2 separate regions of the Homo sapiens genome follow, and region 1 is linked to region 2. The links are contacts of gene promoters, found by promoter capture Hi-C in human tissues and cell types (Jung and others, 2019). All regions are on one chromosome and are shown on one strand. The core of a region is centred on a gene start or on the middle of the fragment in contact, and the rest is flanking DNA. Distances in the headings are between cores, read along the strand shown.

Region 1 (2,757 bases), core at 197-2,696, 440 kb before region 2:
ATATACCAAGATGGAGAAATCGCTTTCATAAGAGCATGAGCTCTGGAGATGCAATGCCTAGGTTTGAATTTGGGCTGATTACCCATTAGCTGAGGGGCCTTAGGCAAATGACTTAACTTCTCTGTGCCTCGATTTTCTCATCTTAAAAACGGATTGATGCTACTACCTATGCCATATGGCTGTTTGGAGATTAAATGTGGATGCACTCAGAGCAGGCCTGGGTCATGGTGAGCACTCAACATTTGTCAGCTGGTTTTATTATTACTGCTGCTAAGCAGGGGGGTGCTCATATTTGTACCTCCTCCAATTTCAAGATCCTTTGTTCTAAACAATTGGAAATTGCAATGATGAAGTTTGATGCACATTTTTCATTTATTCTTCCACAGACTTCAATTTGATGGTCCACAGAAATGTAATTAGCATCGTGCAAATATTTTGGTCAGGACTAAAACTGCCTTCAATATTTAGCAAAAAGAACCAAACATAAGCGTCATCACGTTTTGAAAGCTGAATGTGAGAGCTCTGTGGGCAAATCCCCTCATAAGTGAGAGATTTTGAATAAACAGTAATTATGTAGCAAAAACCTAAGTAACAGCTGCAGGGAGTATTGAGACAAACAGCCTGGAAGTTTGTGTACATGAAGGATGTAACCTGGTGGAGTAATTTATTATCTGGGACAACGGAAATATCAACTGTATGAGCATCATCTGTATAGGAAATTTAGGAAATGAAAATATTTCCATGTCATCGTGGAACACTTATTACTATAAGGTTTACATTTTGAAAGTAGGTGTGACGTTAGCCAGCTGTGGTTTACTGGTATGATATACAATGATGATAAAACCTACGTATATTTATCTGATATTGTCAGAATTGCTAGTCACTCCCTAGATAGAGTATGGTAGTGATTTTCCATTTTCTCATTATTTTTATTTAACAGTAATTTTTGAAAGGATTTTAGCACTTCAAGTAAATGGTGAGGAAACAAAGAACTAGGGAGAGAGGGAGAGAGCATGTGACATACATGAGTGGGTAGAGATGAGAAAACAGTACAGCCGAGTGCCCCTAAGTGTAAAGATGAAATGAAAATCTTCTGTTTGCCTCTACTGTGAATTTCAGGTCAAATCTTTCCTTATTGAAGATTCACCCAAGAGACATCAAGATGACCTCTGGCCAGAGACTGAGTCATCTTTGCATGACATCAACACGACCTGCTTCTGCAGGCCCTTGGGGAACAGAGCAGAAGCTCTATTCCAGATCTAAGATGGCAGCCTGGGAACCCTTTCCAACCATGTGCATATAAGGATCTTGACACGGAAATAGATGGTACAGTTTTCCTCCTTGTATAATTCATTCTGGTTATCCACACACCTAGAACCGTGAAGTTTATAATCTGCTCCTTTCTAACTGCTGCTTATAGAAATATATTTGCCGAAGTCAATGAGAGCCATCGGCAATATGAGGAATTGAGAAGTGAAGCCAGCTGGACTTCCTGGGTAGAGTGGGGACTTGGAGAACTTTTCCGTCTTACAAGAGGTTTGTAAAATGCACCAATCAGTGCTCTGTAAAAGTGCACCAATCAGCGCTCTGTAGCTACTAGAGGTTTGTAAAATGCGCCAATCAGTGCTCTGTAAAAACACACCAATCGGCGCTCAGTAGCTAGCTAGAGGTTTGTAAAATGGACCAATCAGCACTCTGTAAAATGGACCAGTCAGCACTCTGTAAAATGGACCAATCAGCAGGACATGGGCGGGGACAAATAAGGGAATAATAGCTGGCCACCCCAGCCAACAGTGGCAACCCGGTTGGGTCCCCTTCTGCGCTGTGGAAGCTTTGTTCTTTTGCTCTTCACAATAAATCTTGCTGCTGCTCACTCTTTGGGTCCCTGCCATCTTCTTTAAGAGCTGTAACACTCACTGCAAAGGTCTGCGGCTCCATTCTTGAAGTCAGCGAGACCACGAATGCACTGGAAGGAACCAACTCTGGACACAGAATGAGAGGGTATCCAATGGGAGAGGGTCGTAGAAATCCCAAGTGTGAGGAAATGTGCGTGGAAGTAGATTTGTTGCACACTCCTTTTCTTTAGGAACCTGCTGCATATATGTGTTACACTTTTGTACAACTCTGGAGGAAATGCTACTTGACCTGATGTCCTCATTCACCAAGAATTCAAGCAGGAAGAGTTGGATAATCCTTCCACATCATCCCAATTAGTCCTCAAGGATTGTCTTTTAATTTTTTGACAAAGCATTTACAGAAAAATACATAAATGAATGAAAAAATGCCTTCTCCTTCCAGCTTAAGTTGGGGTGTGGTCATGATAAGACACATACATTTGTGAAGTGTAGGGCTATAATACTATATTTCTTCTGAGATAAGCAATGTGATAGGTTTTTATTTCTGCATCATTTTAGAGATATGTACAAACAAGACTCAGAGATTTAAGATTTCCAGAAGCATCCAAAACAGAACTTTTCATTCTCATCCCATTACTCTATGTTGTAAATCACTACAGGGTTATTTTAACTGAAATTGCCTGATACACTGAAAAGTCATGTCCACTACGTGTAGGAGATAAAGAAAGGAAAATAAAGGAAAAGGAAGGAAGGGAGGTGGGGTGCAAAGGGAAGAAGAAGGGTGAATTATCCTTCACTGTCTCAGTTTGGTTTTTCCAGTTCAATCGCTGGTAGCCCAGGTGGAAGAGATGCATGGGGCTAACCCTCTACCCTCTGGCACTCAACAAATTAACTGAAGGGT
Region 2 (2,877 bases), core at 190-2,689:
CTTTGTTTGAAAGGCTCCTCAAACTAACAAGGAGTTTACAATTTGTTTAAATTACCCTAAATGGTTCAGAATAAGAATGTAGCTGCCATTTTTATATTTTGCCAGAGGTTACAATCTGAATTAGTGGCAAGATAATACTTTTGAAAATTCCAAGGCAAATAGTTACATAGAAGACAAGTTTAACCAAAAAATTGCTTCTAACTCTAAAAAAACCCAGTTGCTCTTAGGGGTATTTTAAAATTCATAATTTGATATCCTTGCAAAGCAGTAAGAGAAAGCTTACTCTTTCCTATACGACCCAAGATCAAAGTGAAACTAGACTATTAAGGAATAAAAACAACAACAACAAAAAACTTTTAATTTTATTAAGTAAACTGAATCCCTAATTAGGCATTAACTCCCTTTAGTTGTGTTCATCTTTATTTTAAACGTGTTAGAAAAATAATTTAAACTGTCTTCATATACACAATCATGCCATTAACAAGTTTACTTATTGATTTTGTTTATATTTGTTAGTTAACATATATTCAATAAGTGTAGACAATGACAATTCATAAAAAAGCAAGGTTCCATTTCTCTAGAAACTGCTAACTTTATATAAATTTTATATAAAATTGAAAATTCCAGTGAAATGTAATCTTAAATGAGAAAAAAAGTATCTCTCAGAAGCAAACTAAATAATTTAATTTTAAAGCTTAAGAAGTTTATGAAGTGATGTCACAAATTTCAACCCACTTATTCCTCCCTAACCTTTACTTTTAGAAACTACAGGAGGGAAGGGGGAGGGGAAGACAGTAAAAAGTAGCTTAAATGCAACAGAAAAATTCCTCATAGCCTCACTTTTCTCTTTTTAAAAAATGCAAAACAAAGACACTATTCATTGCTCCCGTTGTGGGGATGCTTACTATGCATATCTCTATCACGACTAAGCCAAAGCCCAATAGATAGGAGGCGCCATAATTTTCCATAACAAAACAAAATAAAGCTTACCTTTGTATGTGGTTCCTGTCTCTTACCAGGCAAAAACTGGAAATCTGGGGAATCATCTCCATAACTTTCTTGGTTGGCTCAGAAATATTGCTTTTAAAATCTGATTGGGTCTCTTTTTGCTGCAATAGCTCCTGTTTGGCATATTCTTTGAGCCTTTTATAAAGGGTGCGTAGGCCCTGTGCTGTTCGAGGAGGGCGGTCTACTCCAATTGCATTATAGTTAACTGCTATGATATCCCAACATCTATTCTTTTCTACTATTACTGAATGTTTATTAGTGTGTTCTTCGAGAATTTTCACATATGGCTTCACAAGCTTTAGCAAATCAAGCTTTTCGGATAAGGTAAAATTGGAAGATCTAGCCTTTCCTACCATTGTTCTTTTCAAATTAAGTAGGCAGTTTCTGAAACCACCATGCAGCCTTCAGCTCTGCTCAGCTCTTTTCACAAACAGAAAAAGATCAGGCTTAACTAGGCTAGCCTCATTTAGGCCCACGCCTACAGGGGAGGGTTTATTAAAATTCCTCCAGCTTAAGCTGACGCAGGTTCAGGAAATCTGCTTAAGCCAAGCCTGACCTACATAAAGCTTCTCACTGAAGAAGACAGGAAGGCACAAGCAAAACACACTTGTGTATAAAGGGAACAGCTCGAGACAGGATTTAATACACAAAGGTCTAGAGATAAGCATGGAACACAGCTAAAAATTAGCTAATTTAGTGAGAATATCAAATTTCACACATGTATGCCTAGCTGACAGACTGAACTGCATTGCAGTATCACTTTAATAAAAACAAAAGAGGAACTGTTTTGTGCTATTTATTTACAAATCCAGTAGACAGAAAACTAAAAGATATGAGTAGTGAATGTAGTAATTCCTAACAGAGCCTCTCATCACTGTTTCTGAGCTGAGTGTTCTCCCTTACAAAATCTGCATAATGCTGGATCTGCTGTCAATCAGGAATTGCATATCCTCTAGCTAGTTAGGTTACACCCAGACCCAGACTCCACAGTAAAGCTAAGCTTCTCCTTCATTTTACAGTCTACATTAGCCTCTGCATATTTTTTTCACTTAAGAAAAAATTTTTATAGAACACTCAATCTAAAAAGCAGGTAAAAATCATGTTTTTAAAGCAATGGATTATTCTAGCCGTAATGTATGTGAATTTGCTAGCCTGCCTTATCATGTGTAAAAAATCACTGTTCATGGTGAGAAACAGTATAATCACGCCTTAAGACTCCACATACAAAATCACATTTGCTATTATAATAGAGCCAGATTTTTTATTTAGCTATATTCACACAGTTTGGACTATGAAAGGAAACAGCTAGTCTAGCCATTTTCAAGGCCACCAGTTTCGGTGCTTAGAATATATTTGTTAACCCCAGTATGAAAATATATGATACATAATAATGTAAGCAAGACAAACCTATTTTCTCACAATATACATATTTTTCCAGATAGGGGAATAAATTAGAACATACTTGAACATAGTTCTATCCAATAAAACTATTACTGAACAACTGTGATAGTTATTAAGAGGTAGGAAAAATAAATTGTTTTTAATTACTGACCACGTATATAAATGCTCCCAGGCACTGTGCAAGACCCAATGAAATCAAAAATGAATCTAGATACAGCACCTATCCAGGGAACTGTAGTTCCACAGAAATGCTATAAATTCTCAATTATCTTGTTTTTCATTCTTTTAACAATGGAGAAGCAAATTACATTTACTGAGCTCTCACTGTGAGCCAATGTGTTAAAAGCTTTAAGTGTATTATCTTTCAGAAAACAGTGAAAGATTGCTGGATGTTCTACGGAATGCTAGATGTTGTCTGGTATACGCTACTGAGTAATTTGATTCCATAATAGTTCTACCCTTTCATTG

The links. The method cuts DNA at HindIII sites, captures the fragments that hold promoters and counts their contacts. A contact is called where the count stands out against the background at its distance.
Region 1: a fragment that was not itself captured here is called in contact with the fragment with the promoter of FSBP in region 2 in 1 of the 25 tissues and cell types used here (mesenchymal stem cells).

The regions. Positions count from the first base shown.
Region 1 is chr8:93,997,584-94,000,340 of GRCh38, forward strand. No RefSeq gene overlaps it. Among named protein-coding and RNA genes, the nearest start is that of PDP1, 82 kb to the left of the region's middle. The HindIII fragment of the contact is 7,356 bases long and covers 1-2,757 here.
Region 2 is chr8:94,435,505-94,438,381 of GRCh38, forward strand. It overlaps FSBP (fibrinogen silencer binding protein), which reads right to left and starts at 1,440. Exons shown (of 2, transcript NM_001256141.2): 1 at 991-1,440. The coding sequence starts at 1,364. All of the region lies in intron 3 of RAD54B (RAD54 homolog B), which reads right to left. The HindIII fragment of the contact is 647 bases long and covers 1,145-1,791 here.